Regions from separate parts of the Homo sapiens genome. Here all the other regions are linked to region 1. The links are contacts of gene promoters, found by promoter capture Hi-C in blood cells and fetal thymus (Javierre and others, 2016). All regions are on one chromosome and are shown on one strand. Each heading gives the region's core, a stretch centred on a gene start or on the middle of the fragment in contact. The rest is flanking DNA. Distances are from core to core; before and after follow the strand shown. Region 1 holds the start of CMSS1 (cms1 ribosomal small subunit homolog). Region 2 overlaps DCBLD2 (discoidin, CUB and LCCL domain containing 2). Region 3 overlaps TFG (trafficking from ER to golgi regulator). Region 4 overlaps ADGRG7 (adhesion G protein-coupled receptor G7). Region 5 has its middle 110 kb from the start of LINC00973. Region 6 holds the start of ADGRG7 (adhesion G protein-coupled receptor G7). Region 7 has its middle 17 kb from the start of ADGRG7.

The links. The method cuts DNA at HindIII sites, captures the fragments that hold promoters and counts their contacts. A CHiCAGO score of 5 or more calls a contact.
Region 2: a contact is called between a fragment that was not itself captured here and the fragment with the promoter of CMSS1 in region 1, in 1 of 17 cell types (non-activated CD4 T cells). The highest score is 5.3, in non-activated CD4 T cells.
Region 3: a contact is called between a fragment that was not itself captured here and the fragment with the promoter of CMSS1 in region 1, in 4 of 17 cell types (fetal thymus, naive CD8 T cells, total B cells and 1 more). The highest score is 5.6, in fetal thymus.
Region 4: a fragment that was not itself captured here is called in contact with the fragment with the promoter of CMSS1 in region 1 in 1 of 17 cell types (total B cells); the score reaches 5.6 in total B cells.
Region 5: a fragment that was not itself captured here is called in contact with the fragment with the promoter of CMSS1 in region 1 in 1 of 17 cell types (endothelial precursors); the score reaches 6.1 in endothelial precursors.
Region 6: the fragment with the promoter of ADGRG7 here is called in contact with the fragment with the promoter of CMSS1 in region 1 in 2 of 17 cell types (total B cells and naive B cells); the score reaches 11.4 in total B cells.
Region 7: a contact is called between a fragment that was not itself captured here and the fragment with the promoter of CMSS1 in region 1, in 7 of 17 cell types (total B cells, fetal thymus, naive B cells and 4 more). The highest score is 17.1, in total B cells.

What each region holds. Positions count from the first base shown.
Region 1 is chr3:99,815,981-99,819,322 of GRCh38, reverse strand. CMSS1 (cms1 ribosomal small subunit homolog) reads right to left here and starts at 1,461. Exons shown (of 10, transcript NM_032359.4): 1 at 1,280-1,461. The coding sequence starts at 1,343. It overlaps HP09053 (a long non-coding RNA gene), which reads left to right. Exons shown (of 3, transcript NR_110821.1): 2 at 349-403; 3 at 851-2,691. It overlaps LOC105374010 (a long non-coding RNA gene), which reads right to left and starts at 1,461. Exons shown (of 5, transcript NR_189163.1): 1 at 1,280-1,461. RefSeq lists enhancers at 1,195-1,504, 736-1,610 and a silencer at 1,026-1,780. The HindIII fragment of the contact is 550 bases long and covers 1,050-1,599 here.
Region 2 is chr3:98,892,175-98,895,516 of GRCh38, reverse strand. All of the region lies in intron 1 of DCBLD2 (discoidin, CUB and LCCL domain containing 2), which reads left to right. Among named protein-coding and RNA genes, the nearest start is that of DCBLD2, 7.8 kb to the left of the region's middle. The HindIII fragment of the contact is 3,386 bases long and covers 1-3,333 here.
Region 3 is chr3:100,720,144-100,723,485 of GRCh38, reverse strand. The region is part of intron 3 of TFG (trafficking from ER to golgi regulator); the gene reads right to left. Among named protein-coding and RNA genes, the nearest start is that of TFG, 12 kb to the right of the region's middle. The HindIII fragment of the contact is 1,488 bases long and covers 507-1,994 here.
Region 4 is chr3:100,647,178-100,650,519 of GRCh38, reverse strand. It overlaps ADGRG7 (adhesion G protein-coupled receptor G7), which reads right to left. Exons shown (of 16, transcript NM_032787.3): 11 at 713-825. Among named protein-coding and RNA genes, the nearest start is that of ADGRG7, 39 kb to the right of the region's middle. The HindIII fragment of the contact is 2,750 bases long and covers 332-3,081 here.
Region 5 is chr3:99,021,885-99,025,226 of GRCh38, reverse strand. No RefSeq gene overlaps it. Among named protein-coding and RNA genes, the nearest start is that of LINC00973, 110 kb to the right of the region's middle. The HindIII fragment of the contact is 187 bases long and covers 1,683-1,869 here.
Region 6 is chr3:100,607,860-100,611,201 of GRCh38, reverse strand. It overlaps ADGRG7 (adhesion G protein-coupled receptor G7), which reads right to left and starts at 1,601. Exons shown (of 16, transcript NM_032787.3): 1 at 1,231-1,601. The coding sequence starts at 1,345. The HindIII fragment of the contact is 7,171 bases long and covers 433-3,342 here.
Region 7 is chr3:100,591,283-100,594,624 of GRCh38, reverse strand. No RefSeq gene overlaps it. Among named protein-coding and RNA genes, the nearest start is that of ADGRG7, 17 kb to the left of the region's middle. The HindIII fragment of the contact is 1,719 bases long and covers 884-2,602 here.

The DNA of each region.
Region 1 (3,342 bases), core at 212-2,711:
TGTTCATCTTCAATCATATCATAAAATAGAGCTTTTTAACACCTGAGTTGGGAGGGGTAGTTATTAAAGTAAATGTGGAACACCACAGGGCTGCAAAAGAGTCAGGAAGTTTAATCAAGGAAATGTTGTATTGGCTACCTTTCTAAAAATGACATCTGCTTAGTTTGTACCTGAAGGCTTGACCTTCCGGAAACAATGCAACAAATGAAGTTGGTTATTTTTAATGGATATTTCACAACTAGTATTTCAAGATTGTTTGCAGCAAATAGGTATCAAGTGTCTAACATGTGCAGGGCCCTGTGGATGACAGAAGTATGAATCTGACTTTGGCCCTGTCTTCTCTTGTAGAGAAAAGAGGCAGACCTTGAGGAGTGATAAAAACCAACCAACCAATAATTGCATGGTAGGTGTGATGGAACTTAAAAAGTTCAAGGCTAGCCTGACATGGGGGGTCACTTAACGCTACTCTACTTGGGGATGAAATGCCCACTGCATCAGGAGTTGGTAAACACAGCAGAGCATAGTAGAAACTATTCAAATTGTGTTAACTGAATTCTAGTATTGTTTCTGAAAGGAGCTAGCTTTGTGAACTTGTCAAGTTACTTGACATCTTTAGGTTATGTTTCTCATCTGTAAAATAAGTGAGTTCAAAGGATGATCTCTATTTAAGCCTCCTTCCAGTTCTACTATTCCAAATTCCATGATAATGATGATGACCACAAGAAATACAGTAACTTATATTTACCACACATTATATGTCAAGCACTATGCTAAAGTGCATTACTGTACTAACTTCACTTAATCTTCACAACTTTACGAAATGGACATTATTGTTATCATTATTTTACAGATGAGGAAAAGGAGGCTAAACAGTATCAGAATACTGGAGTCGTGATTTGAATGGAGGGAGTCTGAAGCAGCAACCCCTGCTTCTGACCTCAGTCTGAATTGAAAGCAGTTCATGGGTCACCCTTAACCATCATACAAAGTTGCCTCTCTTCACAAAAACTGTCTTATCCATTCTCAAGAAATAAGGAAAAGAGAAAGCTTGTGGAAAGGATCCTTCCTGGCTGGCAGACAGATCTGAGTTAATGTCACAGCTGTCTGTTTCACGTGTTAAAGAATCTCTTGCACCATTTTCCCCGAGATGCTTGCGCGCTCCCAAGGCGGTGCACACCCCTGCTGGGCAAACACCGCGATCGCCAGAAGCGACCAGGGCTGAGGCGCACGGAAGGGCTCCGGGAGAGGCCCCGTAGGAGCGCGGGCACAGAGTGGGTACCTGGGCTGCTGCCTGCTCCAGTCGGCTGGTTCTCCCACCACTCGTCTCCGAGATCGTCTGCCATTTCAGCTCAGGTCTCGACGTGGGCAGAACATCACGGGTAGGCGACCAGCTGCGGAGAATCACGTTGTCTCAAAGCCAGGCGGCCGGCGTAGCTACACGCGGAGCTCCCGCTAGACACTGTCGCCTCCGCCCCGCGGCGATGACGTCACACCTCTGCCCCGCCTCTCCGGCAGCCGCTCCCAGACTCGTCGCAGTTTCCACACAGGCGCCGACAGGCAGAAGCAGTTTGGAAACGCAACATAAATCCCCCCAAAGCTTAAAGACAAAAAGGAACATAAGACGAAAGGGATTGTCATCGTTTTTGATAATGCATTTTAAAAAATTTTGTTTACGTGTTACGTTTCCCGATAAGATTGTGTCGAAAGTGTGAGACACCATGTGAAGACGATTTTTCTCCGCTCAGTTTCAAAGAACTTGCGCAGCGGGAGAAGACCCAAACATGTGCGTGTGTTTTCGCTTGTGCGTCAGTGTTTCAGAGTTTATGTGTTTGTACAGTTTGCTCTTAGAAAACATGCGCAAGGATCCATGACCATGAATGTCGGGCCTTTGTGGTAAATGTAGTTCTGCTATTTATGCAATATGAGTAAAGAAAATGTAATTGGCCTGGAAAGGCTCGCCCACAGAAAGACGCAAGTGGCTCGAAGACCCGCAAGTTGTTTTCCTCATACTCCCTCGGTTGTGTGTCCCACCCCCTATTTGGGAAACGAAGTAATAAGGGAGTCCATTGCTTCGTAACTATAGGTAAGAGACCCGCAGTGCCTCTTGTCTCAGTCCCAACGTGATTTGGCAGGGAGGGACTAGGAAAACCCGCTGGGCGCCAAGTGCTGGGGCTAGCTGTGAAGTAATTGTGGACGGTATTTTTCAGGACATCAAACACAGACGTAAAAATTATACAAAATGTAGTAAAAGCACGCAACGTGCCTGGTACTATGCATGGAATAGTAAGATGAGTCCATTCAGATGTTAGCCTACAGTAGTGGAAATTCAATTTGTAGGAATAAAGGGCTAGACTTCTAATAGGATACATCCTCGGAAATGACAAGACAGGGAAACTTAATCTGATGAGGCTAGGATTAGCCATATGTGGAAAATTACCCCGTGTGCACCCAACTCATAGATGTTTTATAAATGCATTACTGCCTAGACTTTGTCCGCACACTCTAAATGCCCCAAAAGGGAAGATATTATGTATAAATATGGCAAATGTAAAATAATCTATAAAGATCAAAAGTAATATGGCTTTTGTGAAGAAATGTAGATGACGAGATTTTCGTGATTAATAGATTTTTGAAAAAGATAAGAAATGCCAGTGTGGAAGAGGAGTTGCTATGGCTAATAAACATGAAAAGAATTCAGTCTGATTATTAATCTGGGAAATACAAAAAAAACACCACAGCGAGACCGTTTTTCAGGCAATAAATCACAAAATTAAGAAGTATGGGCCGGGCGCGGTGGCTCAAGCCTGTAATCCCAACGCTTTGGGAGGCCGAGGTGGGTGAATCACCTGAGGTCAAGAATTCCAGACCAGCCTGGCCAAAATGGCGAAACCCATCTCTACTAAAAATACAAAAATTAGCCGGGCATGGTGGCAGGCGCCTGTAATTCCAGCTACTTGAGAGTCTGAGGTAGGCGAATTGCTTAAACCCGGGAAGTGGAGGTTGCGGTGAGCCGAGATGGTGCCATTACACTCCAGCCTGGTTGACAAAAGCGAAACTCGGTCTCAAAAAAAAAAAAAAAAAAAAAAAAAAGAAGTCTGGCAATACTAAATTATGGAGTGTCTATGCATTAATGGGAATTGATACCTGTTTTGTACCATGAACTATGAATGGTCTTACATTATATTCCACCTCGCCTCAGCCTCCCGAGTAGCTGGGACTACAGGCACATGCCACCATTCTTGGTTATTTTGTTGTTGTTTTTGTTTTTTGTAGATATGGCGTCTCATTTTGCTGCCCAGGCTGGTCTTTAACACCTGGCTTCAAGCAGTCCTCCCACTCCAG
Region 2 (3,342 bases), core at 391-2,890, 920 kb after region 1:
AGATCATAAGATTATAACCTGGGGAGTCAGGAAAGTGGGAGTGTGAAAGCCCACCCTTTTAGAATGAGTAGCAAAACTCATTCTGGTCATGCTCCACTGTTTGCTTCTTGAACTCATGCCCTGTGTCTGCCCAGTTATTGGAAAAACGTTGGTTGGTTACTGTGGGCCAGGCATGGTACCACATGCTGGGGCATTTTCCTCTTGGAGCTGTGTTAATGACTTCCATAGTGTTGCCAGCAGCCCCTTTATCATCTGTAAGATACCGTCCAAACTCCTTTGCGTATCATGTAAGTAATTTTTTTCACAGTCTGGTCCCTCCCTTTCACTCTGACTTAATCTAATGCCAGCATTTCTCACACTGTATAGTTCAGATATGAGACTGAGCTAATTTTATTCTTCTAAGATATAATTTCATGCCATTTTGCCTTGTTCCCTATACTAACCTCTTCATATATGCAGTTTCCTCTACTTGAAATGCTCTTACTTTCCTTGTCTTCTCGGTAAACTCTCGATCAGCCTTCAAAACCCTTCTTGGGTATCATCCCTTTATGAAGAGTTCTCGAACAGTCCCCACACACTCATCTCCGGATAATACATTCCACACTGTATTCTAAGTATTTATTCCTGCCAGCGGAGAGAGTTTTATTCATTTTCTTATTTCTAATACTTATCATAGTGTCTGTCATTCAAATTATGTGAATTAAGAACCCCATTTCTAGAGTTAATCTGCTACCCTGAGCACATTATTTGGTTCATCCCTTGGCACCGGCATGCACTTCATGCTGTTGTCCTTTGCCTAATCCCCGTAAATTAGTGGTCAGTTCAGGAGCCGGGAACAGAGCCATGTCTTGACCCTTACTACCTGTTTGCTCAGAGCCTAACAGTCTTCCCAGCCTTTCCCAGTCCCACCTCTTCCCAGGAGGAAGACTCCTTTGCTGCACACCCTTGACTATGAGAGGAATCCTTCAAGCTGAAATTCTGAAAATAGACATGCCTACTTCTTAGAAAGCTCTGCTCCCCTCAGATGGGTCATCCTTAACAACCGTGACAGCCTAAATCAGTGCCAGCAATTTGGGCACACTTTCTCCTTTGCATGCTTTCAGCTTCTGACTTCAATAGGCATCTCCAATATTATAAAAGTCCCCCTAGTTTTTGTTCTCGTAGTTGCCTGTCTCCTTTTTCTTGCCAGTGGATGTTGCTGGGGAGCATTCAGGTAGCTTCACTAATCTGGTGTAATAGAAAAGTAATGAGAAATGGAGGCTGGAACGTATTGTGGAGGACTTCCCATTGAGGGGCAGACTGAGGAGTTTGTATCTGCGATGTTAGGCCTGACATTAGCCTCAGGTGCTTCCTCTTTCACCTGGTTCATTTGTCTGTCACTAGGTTTGGTTATCTCTTCTCAACTCAGGCACCCCAAATCCATCATCTCAACAATGCTCTTTCCGTGATCTTGGACAGTTCCCAAACTTGGGCCCATGTGATAATCCCCATTCTCTGCTTTCTCTGGTTCTGGATAGCTCATAGTTACAAGATTAAGTCATGTGGTCATCGTGATTAGATCTGCCACAAATGAGGTCTGGCTAATCAAGTCCCAAGTGGGGATTACTGCTTAGCAGACTATCTCACTTTGTAAAGCTGATTTGTACAGCCGAACTCCTGCCCTGCTCCTAATCCTTGCACAGTATGACTTCCTCCTGACTGAAACCTTGTCCTCTTCCTCTTTATCAGAGCACTGCTACATTGGGGAATGTGAATTTTGTTTTGGCATGCTTTACACTTTGATGGCACTTTTACTTTATATCTGGAAACATGCTCAAAATGCCACTGGCTTTTACATATCTCTTTTTTCATTGCTTTGTGGTACCTTGTATCTCTGCTTTTTTCAGTGACGAGCTTTCTAAATGGTAATCTACATTTGTGCTGTATATTTTCTTAGTGACTGGCACACAGCAGATATTTGTTAAATTGTTAATTTATTTTTTAACCCTTGCAATAAAAAAGCAAGGGTTTTGTTTCTGCTTTACTGAAACTGTCATTTACACTGTCAGATTTTTGTTTGTTTTGGTTTTTGTTTTAGTTTGAAAAACCAAGCAGCTTTGCCTATCTTTATTATTGGTTTCTTTTTTTTTTTTTTCTTACTACAGTGGTCTTTGAAAATCTGGAGGCTTTGGACTTGGACATACCTGGATTTAAATAATAGCCTTGTTGAACTTGACATCCAGTTACTACTCTAAATATTTTAAAATATGTAACTCATCTTTCTTTTTAGACTGTAACGAGGGCTGGGATTGAATCTGGGTAGCAAGTAAATTTTTGTTCAATGAATGAATCAATATGTCAAAGAAAATTTTGTTTCATTTTACTCTGCAGTTAAAATTTCCATTTTTATATGTTTCCGTTCCACTAAGACTCACTTTTCCATCCCTCTTCCCTTTATCCCCAATTATTGTTCCACCCCCAGCTCAGTGAGAGGAGTCAGAGCATGCAATAGAGGAATGTGGCAGAAAGGCATGACTGTCTCCAGCCCACCCAAATCTTAATGTGAGTTCTGTGCTCTCCTTTTTGACCTTTGCTCTGCCTCTTCAGCCTTCTGCCTGTTGGTGTGCTTCAGTGTTTTTTGATCCCCACCATCTCAGATCATTTTATCTCTTCTTTCCTGATATACCTTTGTTTCTGTCTACTCTTGGCATCCTAAAAGCCAGCTTTATAGGTCTGGATGTGAGGTGGACATTCTTTTGCATGCATGGAGGAAGAGTGTTTTAGTTAGGACTTTTGAGGTTATAGAGAACAGAAATCCATATCTGATTAAGGTAGAAGGAGAAACTATTGGGAGGATTGAGAGGGGAAGGCAGGAATGCAGCTAGACTTCAGGAACCAAGGACTCAGCTTAGTTCTTCCCTCTTGTTTCAGTCTGGCTTTCTCTTTGTGGAAGGAATCATGGCTGCTGGCAATCCCGAAGGCTTACGGTTTTAACACGGAGAAATTCTGTATTTTCCCTATTGTACAAGGTCCAGGAAAGGGTGAGTTGGCCCTCACATTGACCCAGTGTGATTCAGTACCCACCCTTGGACCAGTCAAATAACCAGGGGGCATGAGGTCATATTAAAACTGTTGGGAAACTGCAGAGCACCTTCCAGAGAAGGATAAGGCAGGGTACTAGATAAACAGAGGCATCCTCTTCTAGGAGAAAGAGTGTTACATTTATAAAGAGACCACTGTATTTTAAAGAAGTTCTTACTGAACCTTTACATTTATCTTGGGAGATGGGTGGTGGTATCCTCATCCGTGAGGTAGTTGCATCCTCACCAGTATACTGGTTAGGGTATGTAAGCTTGTGGCAGT
Region 3 (3,342 bases), core at 1-2,500, 900 kb before region 1:
GATTTTTTTTAAAATTCCATTAAGAGATTATTTTAACCGATATATGTAGTCAATTTCTGTGTACTGTGATTAGTATTCTGTTCTATCTATTGAGCTTTCTACCTCTTTTATTCCGCCACCACTTTCTACTGAACTGAACAGGTACCCTTGTTTTCTTTTTTTCTCCTTTCCTGACAATGTCTAATTTTTCAATTATAACTCTTACATGTACACCATGCATACTTCTGCATATGTAGTATGCAATTAAAAAAATCTAAAGGTAATTACAATGTTCCTCCCAAATAAGTCCTTAAAATATTTTTATTCCTATCATCCCTTCCTTTCTTACATATTATTGCCCAGTATTTTTGTCCCAAATTGTTTTTATTCCCTAAGACTATTAATTTTGTAACAATCAATGCTCATTAAAACGTACACATAAATTTCATTGGTGCTTCCCAATCCCCTGACAGCCCAAGGTTTAAGAGTTAAGCTTCCTTGACTTTTTCTGTATCAATGGAAAAGCTTTTCTAAAATAGTTTTTGAAAGCATAGCCTACTGACCAAGCAACAGTTTATCTGCTCACATTGCTTCTTGCATCTTTCACCACCTTCTGGACTAAATTTCCTTCTTGATGAAGACCACTGTTAAAAATTATTTTAACAAGGGTCCATGAGTGGTAAATTCTCAGTCTTTCAAAGTATTTTTACTTCTCCTCATTCGTGAAATTTAGTGGAGTATAGGATGCTACTTTTCTAGTTATTTTTCTTTACTGTTTGCAACTGTGATAATACTGTCTTTTAGCCTCTATTATTACTATGAAGAAGTCTACTAACAGTCTAATTGTTTCATATGTGATCAGTCTTATTCTCTCTGGCTACTTTTAAGGTAATCTCTCTGTCTTAAGACATTTTCCAGTTTCATGACAATATGTCCAGTGGGGATTTACTTTTACTTATCCCTGCTCAAGGCTCCCCGTGCCTTCTGAATCTGAGGGTCTATAGCTTTTATATAACTCTGAAAATTTCTTTAGTCATTACCTCAATGTATTTCCACTCTCCCATTCTCTCCTTCTTGAAACTCTGAATAGAAATATTCTGGATGTTCTCATTTTCAACTTCTCTTTTGCCTGTGTTTTTGTGCTTTACTCTGTAATTTCTTTGGATTTCCTTTTCAGTTCACTAATTCTCTTTTTAGCTATGACTAATGTGTTTAACCTATCCACTTAGTATTTAATTTCAATGATTATATTTCTCATTTCCAAGTTACTTTAAGTTCTTTATAAAATCTGTTTATTGTTTTTCCATAATACAATAGCATCTTGCTCTTATGTTCTCGTTTTGTTTTGTTTTTTCTGAGATGGAGTCTCACTCTGTCACCCAGGCTGGAGTGCAGTGGCGCGATCTCGACTCACTGCAACCTCCACCTCCCAGGTTCAAGCAATTCTCCTGCCTCAGCCTCTCAAGTAGCTGGGACTACAGGCACACACCACTACAGCTGGCTAATTTTTTGCATTTCAGTAGAGATAGGGTTTTACCGTGTTGCTCAGGCTGGTCGCGAACTCCTGCACTCAGGCAATCCGCCCGCCTTGGCCTCCCAAAGTGCTGGAATTACAGGCGTGAGCCACCACGGCCGGCTGCTTTTATATTCTTATTCCTTCTTCTATGTCTTAAATAACTTTTAATTTTGTAGACTATCACATATCTTAACTGAAGTTGTTGAAAATCTAATCCTGCTATTAGTTGTGTCCAGTGGTTCTTGCTTACCTGACAGCTTCATGTGTCTTACGGTTTTGTCTGTGAGAAACCTATGTGACCTGGATTGAGAATATACCCCTCAAGAGAGATTTTGGCCTTTCTTCTGAGATTTTTCTAAAATGGTAACATCTGGGCTTGGGAGTTACCAAACTACATGGATAGTTTAAATTTAAACCCAACTCACCTAAGGACCACAATTATGAATCCTGAAGGGAGACTTCCCAAGCCCCTGACGGCCCAAGGTATAAGAGTTAAGCTTCCTTGACTTTCCCTGTATCAAGGTAGACTTTTCTAAAATATTCTTTTTGAAAGCATGGCCTACTGAGGGACTAGGACCAAGGGCCTACACCATGTAGACACCAGATGGCAATTCCTTAAATTATGCAGGCTAAAATCTCTACTATCACCACCAAGAACACCCCAAGTTTCAGCTTTTGGTACATCAGGCCTTTAGTTCCCTCTACTTTTTTGTTCCCTGGATATTTCCCTTACTTTCCTGTGCAAGCTGAGTTACAGAATTCAGAAAACACATTTGTAAGTTTATCTAGCAGATCCTGTTTAAAGTAAGGGTCTTCAGATTATCTAATCTGCTTTATGCCTAGTCAATAGTTAAGTATTTTACATTCAATACTGTAAAAAGATACCTTTATTTTAAATAATTTTAAACAGTTTTTGTTATTAACATTTAAATTCTGATTATTCATATTCATCCTTCCTAGATGGAGATGAAATAGATACAAATTAAATCAATAGACCATGATCATATTTCACACTGAACTCTAAGTTTCATGCAACAAAATTAAAAAAAAATAAAATTAATGCTAAACAAAACAACAAAACAGCCGGAAAAAGTGTACACATTTTATTTTTCACATAATCACACTACCATTTAACTCTGTAATCTTTTCTATCTTGTCCCTTAAGAGTTCTGCCTTGCATATCTATTAAGATCTAAAAGAAAAAATCTAAAAGATTAAAATTAGTCTTCTATTGGTTTTTATCAGAACTATTTTTAATCTTTAAGTACCCCTCGGGAAATACTGTCTAAAGCAAGGGTCCCCAACCCAGTGCTACTCTGTGGCCTGTTAGGAACCAAACCGGGCTGGGCAGCACAGCAGGAGGTTAAGTGGTGGGCTCCGCCTCCTGTCAGTTCAGCAGTGGCATTAGATTCACATAGGAGTGTGAACCCTATTGTGAATTGCACATGCAAAGTGGAAGAGTTTCATCCCCAAACCTTCTCCTGCCCCCTTCCATAGAAGAACTGTCTTACACGAAACCAGTTTCCAGTGCAAAAAGGTTGGCGACTACTGGTTTCAAGTATCAGACTTACATGTTAAGCCCTGATAATAAGTAACAACATACTGTAATGTGAAGGAAGATAATTACAATTTAAAAATTCTAATACAGCTAAATTAAAACTATAATACTGCACCAGGGATACCTAAGTTATACCTGATTTCAAAAAAAACATACTTAACACTCTGTTCTTACTGAATTAAACTTCTATCATTTTCTTAAAAACATACACAGCCATAAGCTTCAAGTAATCTAAAACAACTACCTGAACACAAATAAATGTAATAATATTTGAATAAGTTATTGCTTA
Region 4 (3,342 bases), core at 457-2,956, 830 kb before region 1:
CAAAGTAACTGGCCTGGATGCTTGAAAAATTTCAATGTCATGAAAGACCAAACAAACATGAAATGTGAAGTTGACAGAGGAAACACACAGTAAACGGAGTAAATTAATAAATGAACAAGCTTCTAAAAGACCGCAGGCAGTTAAAAAAATGTAGCATGTGACAAAAAATAATGAATGGGATACAAAATTGGACCTCAAATGAAGGGGTCAAGGTGGAGAGAAGTATTTGTTTATAGGTCATTATTTAAAATTAGAATTTAATGTATGGGATTCAAAAACTTTCACCATTTGAAAACTATATTTTTGAAAAACGTTTCACCATTTGAAAGCTTGATATATTTTTTAAATTACTTTTTTAAAAAATTGCTGTTTGCAATGTCTCTTTCCTTAACAAATACAAATTGCTAGGCATGGTTCTATTCAACACTGAGGAATTATAGCATTAATGAGCTGCAGGACCACATAAATTTTACATGACAAACTTGTAAATAAGTGGCATATAATTTTCTTTCAAGGCACTTGCCACAATTTGTAATTACGTATTTATTTGTGTGTATTTCTTAGCCTTTCCAGGCCTAAATGTCCTCCTCTGTAAAATAAGTACCTCTCTGAGTTCTTGCCTAGTTCAAAGACACTACTCATGAGAATTCTCAGAGTAAATTATATCAAGATAGCAATTTCTCTTCTGAAAAGAGCCTGCTTCTGCTCTTACCTGGTGACAATCTGAAATATAACTGTGAGAGCCAGACCAGTAACAGACAGTGCACATCCAACGTTGGATAATATGTCAAGTGATTTGGGATATTGATAATCCTTTTTGAAAGTCTGAAAAACAAGGTAAGACTCATATTTTTAATTAGTCATCCCTGAAGTGTTAATGAAAGTCAACATCACAGAGTTACATGGGTCAAAATAACCAGACAGTTGCCAGATATATCTTCCTTTTGTAAAGCTCATGATATATTTAAAAGCGAAATACATTAACCCCTTATTGCTGAGCAGTTTACCTGAAGTATACAGGCTTGAGAATAATTATCTAACTAATTCAGTTAAGGAAAAATATACAGTCATGTCTTGGTATTTGCAGGGGGACTGGTTTCAGAACAACTTGCAGATGCCAAAAGCCATGGATACTCAAGTCCTGCAGTTGGTCCTGTGCAACCTGCTGATGTGGAAAGCTGACCTGCATATACCAGTTTTGCACTCTGAAAATACTGTTATTTTCCATCTACGTTTCCTCATGGATGCAGAACCTGCCAATGTGGAGGGCAGACTTTTTTATTGAAAACAATCCACATATTAAGTGGACCCATACTGTCCCATGTGGTTCACAAGTCAACTATTTATACTTTTCCTTGATGTCTAAAATCAAAATTGTTTGAATTAGATCTAAATTGTCAAAAGTTGCCTCACTTATTCATGACATTATTTTTATGTGTAACTGGACTCTAAGTATATCTAAATTGATGCACTAAAAATAAAGTTGCAGAAATATTTTCATAAATATGGAAAGATGCTCATACCCTGTTAATTTTTTAAAGGAAGCCTTATTTTTATGTAATATAGCTATATATCTCTCAACATGTTTGCGTGTGTATATATATATGAAAATATGTACCATATGAGTATGTAATCTTAGAAATCTGGTGAGGTAGTGGTGGTGGTCACAGGGTGGGTTGGATATGTATAGTTCATTTTGCTTATCTGTACTTTCTGATTTTTTTAAGTTGTTAAAATTAGAAAAGCAATGTATTCTTATTTGTAAAATATGAAAGGAATATAGAGGCATAATAAAGAAGCATATGTTCCTTTATACTGCCTGCTACCCCACACCATACCTACCTCTTGAGAGCCTGTCTTTTTTTCTTACATGCTTAAAAATACTATCTATGTCTCTTACACAAACATACAGGGGTTTGCTAACATAATAGCATTATGCTTGAATTGCCATTTTACTTTTTCATAAACATTTTTCCATATCAGTATATTTTTGTTTGGTGCATACTTTCATGCTTTATGCAATGCCTGTGTATTGCTTTTATAGAAATAAAATAAAAACAAAATACACATTTAAAAATAAAACAAAAATTTTATGTTATTTCTTATACGTAGTGTACTAAGTAGATGCAAAAAGGATCGTAAGATTCATAGGTCTTCAGATTTTAAAAATAATATTTTTCACTCAGAGCCGATTTGCTCTTAATCATGCAATTTTAATCAGCCATTTAAAAAAATAATGCAAACCAAAACTAATTACAAATGTAGGTACGTAGACATTGAGACAGTCAGATACTAATGAGAAAAAATAGCTGAAAGCCTAACCTCAAGAAAGGGAAAAGATAACTATAATAAAGTAAACTATATCATTTAACATGTATAGCAACCTGAGCTTTACATAGCTCATCAATGATCCTATGACTTTAAGATATCAAAAAGTTAAATTTTTCTCCTGTATCTCCTGATTGAGAAGGCAGATCTCTCTGTAATACAAATTAGAAAAGAAATAATCCAAATGAATTTGAATAAGAGAGCTTTTATAATTAAAATGAGAAAACTACAGTTATCTCAAAAAGTTTTAAAAAGCAAGGTTCTGTGCTTTGATAATGCAAGCTATACCAGTATGTTCTACCAGTCTCCACTGGCTTCCCAAATATGGCTATATTATAGCTACTGGGGAATGAAAACATCTGCTTCTCCTTGGGAGATTCATAGCATTAATAGTCCCTTACTAAGGAGAAGAACACTCTTCATAATTCCCCATTCCATTGTGTATAAAAAACATTCCATCAAGTATATAAACTAACTTTTTTTTGTTTCACCGGAATAATAGATTTCTGGAAATAGAACATACAGAAGAAGCCCCTCTTCTTACAAAGGTCAGCACAAGAACCTTGAGAGACGCATGCACAGCTGCACGCCAGAGCTAAGTATTATCAGTTACTTGCACAGTATAGCTTTAGAGGTAAAAGAATTAAGGAATACACGGAGAAACTAGGGGACAAATTGAAGGGATTACAGAGTTTTTCTTTTATATCTTCTAGCAAAAACTTAGTAACCTGAGCAATTTCATTGGGAAAAGCTTTGGGTAACTGATTTAAACTGTCCACATACAGCTAAGTAAATATTGAACCTGTCTCTGGCACACAGCTATACAGCTTTACCTCTGGCTATAACAACTTTATGCTTCAGAACGTGTGAGTTAGTTGAATGGAGCCCACCAGCTTTTCTTTCGCACATGGACTCCCTTCCCATGATCAAATACATAGTTCTGACCTCTCTATCCTAAGACCACATAGCAAAAAGTTCTATTCTACTTGCCTTTACCTTAGTCCTATTTTTTTT
Region 5 (3,342 bases), core at 527-3,026, 790 kb after region 1:
ACGTGAATTAGCTTAATACAATCATTGCACAATGTACACATATATCCAAATATCACATTGTACCCCATAAATATATATGATTATTTATCAATTACAAATAAAAATAAAACAAAAGGGGACAAAACAGAACTAGGATTATCACATAGCCACACAGATACCTTAAACATCTGTTGTTATCCTGATGACTATAGGGTCATGTAAAGACCAGGTCAAATGAAACAACTTGATATGGCAAATCCAGAAGCACAGGTGTGTATCTGAGGTAGACAGAGAGCCTGCCAACATTTTTCAAGTCCACTAACTGCTCCTTAATTTTTCTGCAGAGAGAGAGTGATATGAGAAGTAGATATCTGGTAACAAAGTGAGTAGAAAATCGTAGATTTTTCTGACTTGTAGCTTAGAGGCTTGTCTCTTCTCATTGTATTTCACATTTGGTTGTAATCTTCCTGAGGTTAGAATTGTAGATACTAAAACTTTTAGCACAGTGTCTTATATATAGTATACAAATTGCTGAATTCAATTTTCTGCACATTAACTTTCAATATTAAAATAATGGACTAAGGATAGCATAATTTTATGAGGATTAAAAAGAGAATATCTGACAAAGACACACTAACCTGAACAAAAAAATGTAAATAGTAATTTTAAGTAAAACCAGATTCCTTGTTGGCCAATAACATTGTAGCAGACAAACAGAAGTACAGAAATATTCAGGAGAAAATACTTGGAAAATAATTTGGTATGATATGGCTTCAAATGTCCAGATGCCAGGGCTCAGGAAATAAGAATGCCTTCAAATCTTTTAAACAATTAAGCCAATGCAATCATCTAGAGATCATTCAAAGTTAGTGAGATGAGATCTATCCATTGATATTTCTGGTAGAACAGAATGTGAAAAGCATTTGAGAGAGAAAGAAAGGATAGTGAATAGAAATAATAATATTTAGTATAAAACATGTTGATATAAAGAGTTTTCCCAAAATCCTATAGAAAACCTCTTGTGATACAGTAGGAATTCTTATTCAGTTCTTTTTACTGATTAAATCATAGCAAGGGGCCAAATAACTTCCTAATTCACTCAGCTACCACATGGCACATACAGGACTCTATTCTATATCTTTAACTACAAATTCTCACCTCTACTATATACTTCCTATTTAATTTGAGAGGGCACCACAGAGGGCCTAACCAGGCTGAAGACATGGTCAAATATTGATTTTGAATCTGTTGAATGAGGAATAGAAGTACTGATCTGAATAAAGTCAATAAAATAATCTCTGGTTATGTGATTACTTATCACTTTCCACCCCCACTGTTTAATCCTCTGTTATAGAATTAATTATCCTGGAATCACAGAATTAATGTGTGGTAGCTGAAAACTGAGATGGAAATTTGCATGCAACAGGCAATTGGGCTGGTTTTGAAACTTTGAGAAATACAGCCACCTGTTGGACATAGTCTGGTATCACACTCTGTTCACCATTTGTTTTTTAATGTTCTTTGAATGCGAAAAACTTTTGTTAATAACCAAAACGTAAAAAAAAAAAAAAGCATAATTGTCACTATTAGAAAAAATAAAGATGATTAAAAACAGTTGAATGTCTTATTTTGTCTGTTTAAAGAATGAACCTGTGTATTAATAATGTAATTTTCTAGATATAGTCTGAATAAGCTGAAAAGCTTTCATCATCATAAGAACCAATTAATAAATAATTTTTTTAAAAAAGTTATTTCCTCACAAATTAGTAAAAGTAGGAATTTGTTATTTTTTTCATTCCACTCCAGCACTGGCCTCTAGAGCAGCAGTTGGCAAATATTTTTTAATGTTTTTCAGATAGTAAATACTTTAGGCCTTGAAGGCCATAAGCTTCTTTCTCCTTTCCCTTTTATCCTTTCATTTTGGAAAGTTAAGCATCTTTATTTTACTTAATAAAAACTGTATATATTTAAGGTGTACAACATGGTGTTTTGATATACATATACTTAGTGCACTAATTACTACTGTCAAGCTAATTAACATATCCATCTCCACCTATTTACCTTTCTGCATTTGTGGTGAGAACACTGAAGATCTACTCTCTTAGTAAATTTCAAGTATACAGTACAGTATTATTAACTATAGTCCCAATGCTGTACATTGGATCTCTAGAATTTATTCATCCTACATAACTGAAACATTGTACCTTTTAACCGATGTCGTCTCATTTCCCCACCTCCCCAACAACACACAGCCCCACCCCACTCCTGCCCCTGGTAACTATCATCTACTCTCTGCTTCTAAGAATTTGATTTTTTTTTAGATTCCACATGTAAGTGAAATCATGTAGTATTTGTCTTTCTGTTCGTGTCTTATTTCACTTAGCATAATGTCCTCCTGGTTCATCCATGTGGTCACAGATGGCAGGATCTCGTTTTTTTTGAGGTTGAATAATATTCCATTATATATATATATACCACAGTTGTTTTTATCCATTGATCCATGACAGACACTTAGGTTGTTTCCACATCTTGGCTATTGTGAATATGTTTCTATTGCAACTATTCAACTCTGCTGATTTAGCATAAAAGAAGCCATACACAAAGGGAAACAAATGTGCATAGCTGTGTGACAATAAACCTTTACTGATAAAAACAGTTGACAGGCCAGATATAGCCCACAGGCTATAGTTTTCTTATACCTTCTTGTGATGGTTAATATTGAGTGTCAACTTGATTGGATTGAAGGATGCAAAGTGTTGATCCTGTGTGTGTCTATTAGGGTATTGCCAAAGGAGATTAACATCTGAGTCACTGGACTGGGAGAGGCAGAGCCATCCTCGGTCTGGGTGGGTACCATCTAATCAGCTGCCAGCACAGCTAGAATAAAGCAGGCATAAAAGGGTGGAAAGAGTTGACTTGCTGAGTCTTCTTGTCTCCATCTTTCTCCCATGCTGGATGCTTCCTGCCCTCAAACATCGGACTCCAACATCTTCAGCTTTTGGGCTCTTGGGCCTATACCAGTGCCAAGGGCTCTCAGGCCTTTGGCTGCAGACTGAAGGCTGCACTATCAGCCTCCCTACATTTGAGGTTTTTGGACTCAGGCTGGCTTCCTTGCTCCTCAGCTTGCAGATGGCGTATTGTGGGACTTCACTTTGTGAACATGTGTCAATACTCCTTTATAAGCTCCCCTTCATATATACACCTATCCTATTAGTTCTGTCCCTCTAGAACACCCTGACGAATACACTGCTCTAAAGGCCTTTGCGTTGGCTATTCCCTCTGCCTGAATCACTCTTCCCTCAAGTATTCACACAGCTTACTCACTCACTTCCACAAATCCTTGTTTAAAGTATCTCCTTTCCA
Region 6 (3,342 bases), core at 352-2,851, 790 kb before region 1:
GTCTTATAAATTTGGCAGCCTTAATGGGGTAAAATCCATAGTTCATAATTTTTTAACCTGAATGAAACTATTTTACAACCTTAAACAAACAAAAACACATTTGCTCCAAGTTTAAATTTTACTATTTTTGTTCTGGTAAATTTTCTCATTCTAGTTCTCTAAATACTATCGATACAGTATTCTCTAAATACTGGTTAGGGCGGTGGGGTAGGGGGAGGACAAATCCATCCCCAGCTACCACTCCATCAGCAGCCAGTATGTCAGATCCCTCTGTTGGTCTTCAACACTGGATCTTTGCAGCCATGCTCCATGCTCCTGCTAGCTCCCCAACCTTCTGTCCTCCCCAGTTACCTGCTCAGAGGGCATACTGCCTCTCCTGCTGCCTTTCCCGATCGGCATTATTTACCCTTATTTATTGTTTCATTAGAAGCTTTCTCTGATTTTCACGAAAGGGAGTATGTAGCCCATCCAACATTGAATTCCTTTACGGAGAAGCTCTACAGCCCAAGGGATCCAGCATTAGGATCATTGAAATTTCGCGTTCTGAGTTCCAGCGGGCTTTTCTTTAACATCATTGTTTTACTCACTACTTCCCCTCCCACGTCCTCCTTTTCCAGGCCAGCTCTGGCACACAGCGGGGGACTAACAAATGTTCGTTGAATAATCAGGAAAGTCATTTAAAAATGGTTTTTAAATTTTTGATTAGTTTCCTACATCTGGAAAGTGGGAAATTTGTATGCAAACCATGAGATCATTTCACTTAAACCTTAGTGATGAGTTTCTTTAACTTCTCTCTTAAAATGAAATTCCATTCTGTGTATGTTTGATTGTATGTGTGTTATGCATGTGTGTGTATGTGTTTGATGCATGTGTGTGTCCTTGTTCATAACGATTTACCCTTTCCTGAATTTAGCCAAACAGACCTAAATGTGTGTTACTAATCGTTTTAATTATTACTCTTCTACCAATTCAGTCTGGAGTTAAAAGAGCATAAAGAGGCCAATTCAATTATGTCACTCTTCCCCCTGCCCACTCACACCCACACCTATTCATTTCTATTCAACCATCTGCTAGGCTTAACTGACTTGGTCTTTTATATCCCATAAATGGCACCTTGGTGGAATGCCTCAGACTGGACAAGGTACCTCCCAGTACTTGTGCACCAGGTGGCAGGGACAGAGGTCCCATACCTTCTCTTACTCTGAGTTAAACATAGCAGGACAACATTACCTCTTTGGATCCTGATCACAATCCTCCAGATGCCCAGTCCCAAAATGATGCCAGTCAGTAGTCCACACACGACAGCCACCAGCACCCTAAGGTTCCAGGCACGGCAGGAAGCCATGGTGAAGCCAAACCACAAATCCACTCCTGGGTGAGAAATAACTAGCTTCTTTTCTTCTTGAGCTAAAAAGTTTAATCGGAAACTATTCTAAAACAGAAAAACAAGTCCTCCCCTCAGTGATCTGTCAGATGGATGTCTTTGTATTTTAGGACTTTTGAGGCTAATCCAGTAGGATGCAGTTTGAATCTCCTAATAAAAGGTGCATACTCTGCTTTCAATTTCCTCATCCTTCACTCAAGGAGAACATGAAAAAAGTGATTAGAGTTATGGGAATAGGGAGATAACTCAGGGCAATAAAGAAGAAGGGGAGGGACTAGCCACAAGGGTCAAAGAGTGAATGCCCAGACAAGCCACAGAGTGAAGGAAGGGAACAAAATAGAAGAAACCAAAGAGGAAATCACAAAGGCAGTGGTTGCCAGTAGTCACCTATGGCTCGGCTTCCTGTATTTTTGTCTTGGGAGGGTACAGCAGAGATAGACTGGCAGGTGCTTCAGACCACACAAAACACTCTCTCGGGGAAATGAACTAGGTTGTCAATAAGAGGATAAATGGCAATCACCACACATGGTTTTTAGCGCTTGCATTTCTTTAAGGAGCCTACATTTTGACAGATGCAGTTGGTGAGTGTGCATACTGGCACAGGCTGGGTCTTGACAAGCACTAAAGCCCAGCATGATAACCCACCTGCTATGGGCTGAATTGTGTCCCCTCCAACATTCATATGTTGGAGTCCTAACCTTCGGTACCTCAGAATGAGGCCTCACATGGAGATGTGGTTACTGCAGAGGTGATCGAGTTAAAACGAGTTTGTTAGGGTGGTCACTAATCAATATGGCTGGTGTCCTCATAAGAAGAAGAAATCTGAACACAGACATGAATACAGAAAGATGATCTGAAGAGACAGAGAGAGAAGACGGCCATCTACAAGAGAGAGTCCTCAGAAGGAACTGGCTCTGCTGACACCTTGACTTGACTTCTAGCCACCCAAACTGTAAGACAACAAATTTATGTTGTTTAAGCCACCCAGTTTGTGGTACTTTATTAGAGCAGCCCTGGGAAACTAATACATCATCAGAGTAACTACAAACTGGTGTCTCTCTATAGATGCAGCTCTGACCCTCTCCTGCCCAGGCTCCCATGTTCTCCTTCCCTACCCTCTACCCTTACAGGGAAGAACAGATACATGAACATTCACCTCCTCAATCACAGTTTTGTTTTGGTAGAGAGAACAGATGCTCTGGTCTTCTCTGGACACTCCCTTGCTTCATCAAATCCATATTAAATGCCTTTAATGTGTTTGAATTGGTACAAGACATGAACAGGGTCCTCAAAGAACTCATAATTTCTCAGGGGTGAGATACCTAGATATAGCCACCTATAAGGCAAGTCATAACTGCTAAAATAAAAGATCATCATATTTAATTATTATGGAGTGCAGGTGCTCCTTGACTTACAATAAGATTACATCCCAATAAATCCACCTTAAGTTAAAAAATATCTTAAGTCAAAACGCATTAAATATACACCTAACCTGCTGAACATCCTTGCTTAGGCTAGCCTACCTTAAATGTGCCCAAAACACATACAATAGCATAAAATTGGGCAAAATCATCTATCACAAAGCCTATTTTATAATAAAGTGGCGAATATCCCATGTGATATATTGAATACTGTAGTGAAAGTGAAAAACAGAATGGTTGTATGGGTACCCCAAACATGGTTTCTACTGAATGCATATTGCTTTTGCACCATGGTGAAGTTGAAAAATCAGAAGTGAAAAAAACCATCATAAATTGGAAACCTATGTACTAGCCCGTTACTACCTACATACCAGCCCATTAATTCCTTCAGGAAGTATTCAGCAAGGCTTTACCAAAAAAGGCTTTACACTTAAACTGACCTTTAGTTAACCCCCAAACACTATGGGGGTTTCCAATTCTCTGTGACATTCACTTTATAAATGTTTTGCTATAAACATAAGGCCCTAACTTTACCCC
Region 7 (3,342 bases), core at 494-2,993, 780 kb before region 1:
AGCCATATGACCATAATAAAAAACCTAATAGAAAACTAATGATCTATATCACAATTGAAATCAATAAATCAATAAAAGAAAATAACAGTGACTCTTAAGCCATTCAGCATCCTTAAGATAAAAAAATAAATAAAATCCTGTCATTTGCAGCAACATGGATGAGACTGGCAGACATTACGTTAAGTAAAATAAGTCAGGCACAGAAAGACAAATGTGACAAGTTCTTACTCATGTGCAAGCTAAAACAATTGATCTCATGGACGTAGAGAGTAGAATGGTGGTTACCAGAGAGTGGGAAGGGTAGTGGGGAGGGGGAGATAAAGAGGAGTTGATTAATGAGTACGAAAATATGATTAGATAGAATGAATAAAATCTAATGCTCAGTAGCACAATAGGGCAACTATAGTTAGCAATAATTTATCATGTATTTTAAAATAACTAGAAGAATCATCTTAGAATGTTTCCAACACAAACAGATGATAAATGTTTGAGATGATGGATATTTCAACTACCTAGATTTGATCATTGCACATTACATGCTTGTGTCGAAATATCATATGTACTCCATAAACATGCATAACCATTATGTATCCATAAAAAATTTTAAAAACCAATGATCACAAGACCAGTCCAGATTCATGCTACAAAAAGCACAAATTCAAGATGGCAGGATTCACTGGAGGCTGTGATGATTAATTTTATGTGTCAACTTGGCTTGGCCATAGTATTCAGATATTTGGTCAAAATTTATTCAGATTTTTTGTGAAGGTATTTTTTATTTAATTTTGTTAACATTGTCTCTTACATTTTCTCTAATTTACAAATAGCCTGGTAACAGAAGTTCTAATAAACTGAATTAAAATCCTAATGCTGAGCTGAAGCTTTACCTCATTTATAAAATTCCTTATTTTCCACTGATGATTCCCCTGATCATCTCATTTGTTCAAGATTTTCAAATTTTGGATGTTATTAATTTGCCTGAGTGTTTTGGAAGAGACTACCAAATAACCTACGATCTATCCTTTCCTTCTTTAAAAAAAAAAAAAAGAACTTTAATTTCAGGGGAGCTAATGGCCTGCAAGCAAGTCACGATTATTTCCAGCCTCCCTTGAAGCAAAGTGTAGTTATATGACTAAGTTTAGGCTATTGGAAAATAGGCAGAAAGGATGATTGCACCTTCCAGATTTCCAGATCACAGTAGAAATTACACATCACATTAGAAATTCCAGCCACTCTATTTTCCCCTTCTATAGTCTTGAATGCCGACATGGACATCTCAAAAAATGGTAGAACGATCAAACAAAAGGAGCCTGGGTCTTGAATGTCCTCCTAGATCAGAGATGAAGATGAAAGTATTTTATAGATGAGAATTAACACTTAACATTTAAGTGAGTAGACTTTTTGGATTTTGATTTTTTTTATTTTTTGACAGACTCTCGCTCTATTGCCCAGGCTGGAGTGCAGTGGCATGATCTCGGCTCACCGCAAACTCCGCCCCCAGCTCAAGTGATTCTAATGCCTCAGCTATCTGATTAGCTGGGACTACAGGCATGCACCACCATGCCCAGCAATTTTTGTATTTTTTAGTAGAGACAGGGTTTTGCCACGTTGGCCAGGCTGGCTTCGAACTCTTGGCCTCATGTGATCCACCTGCCTCGGCCTCTCAAAGTGTTGGGTTTACAGGTGTGAGCTACTCTTGCCCAGCCTTAAGCCAGTAGACTTTGAGTAAAGTGAATTACCCTTGGTAATGTGGGTGGGCCTCATCTGTATTGGGCCATTTTTGTGTTGCTATAAAGGAATACCTGAGGTTGGGTAACTGATAAAGAAAAGAGGTTTAATTGACTCATGGTTCTGCAGGCTGTACAAGAAGCACGGTGCCAACATCTGCTCAGCTTCCGGTGAGAGCCTCAGGAAGCTCACAATCATGACAGAAGACGACAGGGAGCCAGCATGTCACATGGAGCTAGCAGGAGCTAGAGTGACAGCAGGAGAGGTGATACCCTCCGAAACAAGATCTCACGCACTCAGAGAACTCACTATCACCAAGGGGGTTGTGCTAAGCCATTCATGAGGGATCTGCCCCCTGATCCAATACCTCCGTATAGGCTCACCTCCAACATGGGGGATCACATTTCAACATGAGATTTGAAGGGGTCACACATCTAAACCATATCATTATACAATCAGTTGAAGGCCTTTTTTTTAATTTTTTTATTTTTCCACAGTTTTCACTCAGTCACCCAGGCTGGAGTGCAGTGGTACAATCATCTCATCACAGCTTCAATCGCCCAGGCTTCCCGAGTAGTTGAGACTATTGGCACTGGCTAATTTTTTTTTTTTTTTTTTTTTTTGACACAGGCTGCCTATATTGCCAGGCTGGTCTCGAATTCCTGAGCTCAAGCAATCCTTCCGTCTTGGCCTCCCAAAGTGCTGGGATTACAGACATGAGCCACCATGCCCAGCCCAGTTGAAGGCCTTAATAAAAAAAGGCTAACCTTTCCCAAAGAAGAAGGAATTCCTCTGGGCTTGAACTGTAACATCAACTCTTCCCAGCCTGTTGTCTCAAATACATGCCTTATTTTGAATTCTAAAACATGAAGCTTAAAACTAATGTTAAAGTAATAAGATTGTATTAGTTTGCTAAGGCTGCTCTAAGAAAGTACCACAGGTTTGGGACTTGTCAGCCTCTACAGCCACTTGTGCCAATTCCTTAAAATCCTCCCCTCAAGCCTACATTTGTATATTGGTTCTGTTTCTCTGGAGAACTAATACAGGGGCCATTCTGCAATAAGAACCATGCATTTTACAGGATATGAAGGCCCATAATCCCCAGAAAGCTTAATAATAATGTATGATATTCAAGGATACTCAACGAGTTTGTGATCTAGTTAGCAAGCGTATAAAACATTAGAAGACACCAAAGACAACAATGCAGAAGTCACTAGTTAATAAATGATTTACAAGTATAAACATTGCCTCCCAGAGGAATGTTGGAATGACAAAAATACTGGTTAAGGACACTTGCCAACCTGGTGAGCCCATAAAATAGTATAAATGTATAACTAAGCCAAGTTGTCAGTAAGTTTCTCAACAAAGATAATGCATTTTATGGCTGGTAATAAAACTTGGGGTAGATAATATCTTCATCCCTGGCATTTGCCGTATTGCCCTCAGTGTACCATTTTCCATGCTTTATTCTGAAATCTAAAAACATTAAGCTTAAAACTAATGTAAAGTAATGGGGTTGTTTGAGTTTGCTAAGGTTGCTATAAGAAAGTATCACAAACGGAGCAGCTTAAACAACAGAAATTTGTCTCACAGTTCTGGAGGCTAGAAATTCCA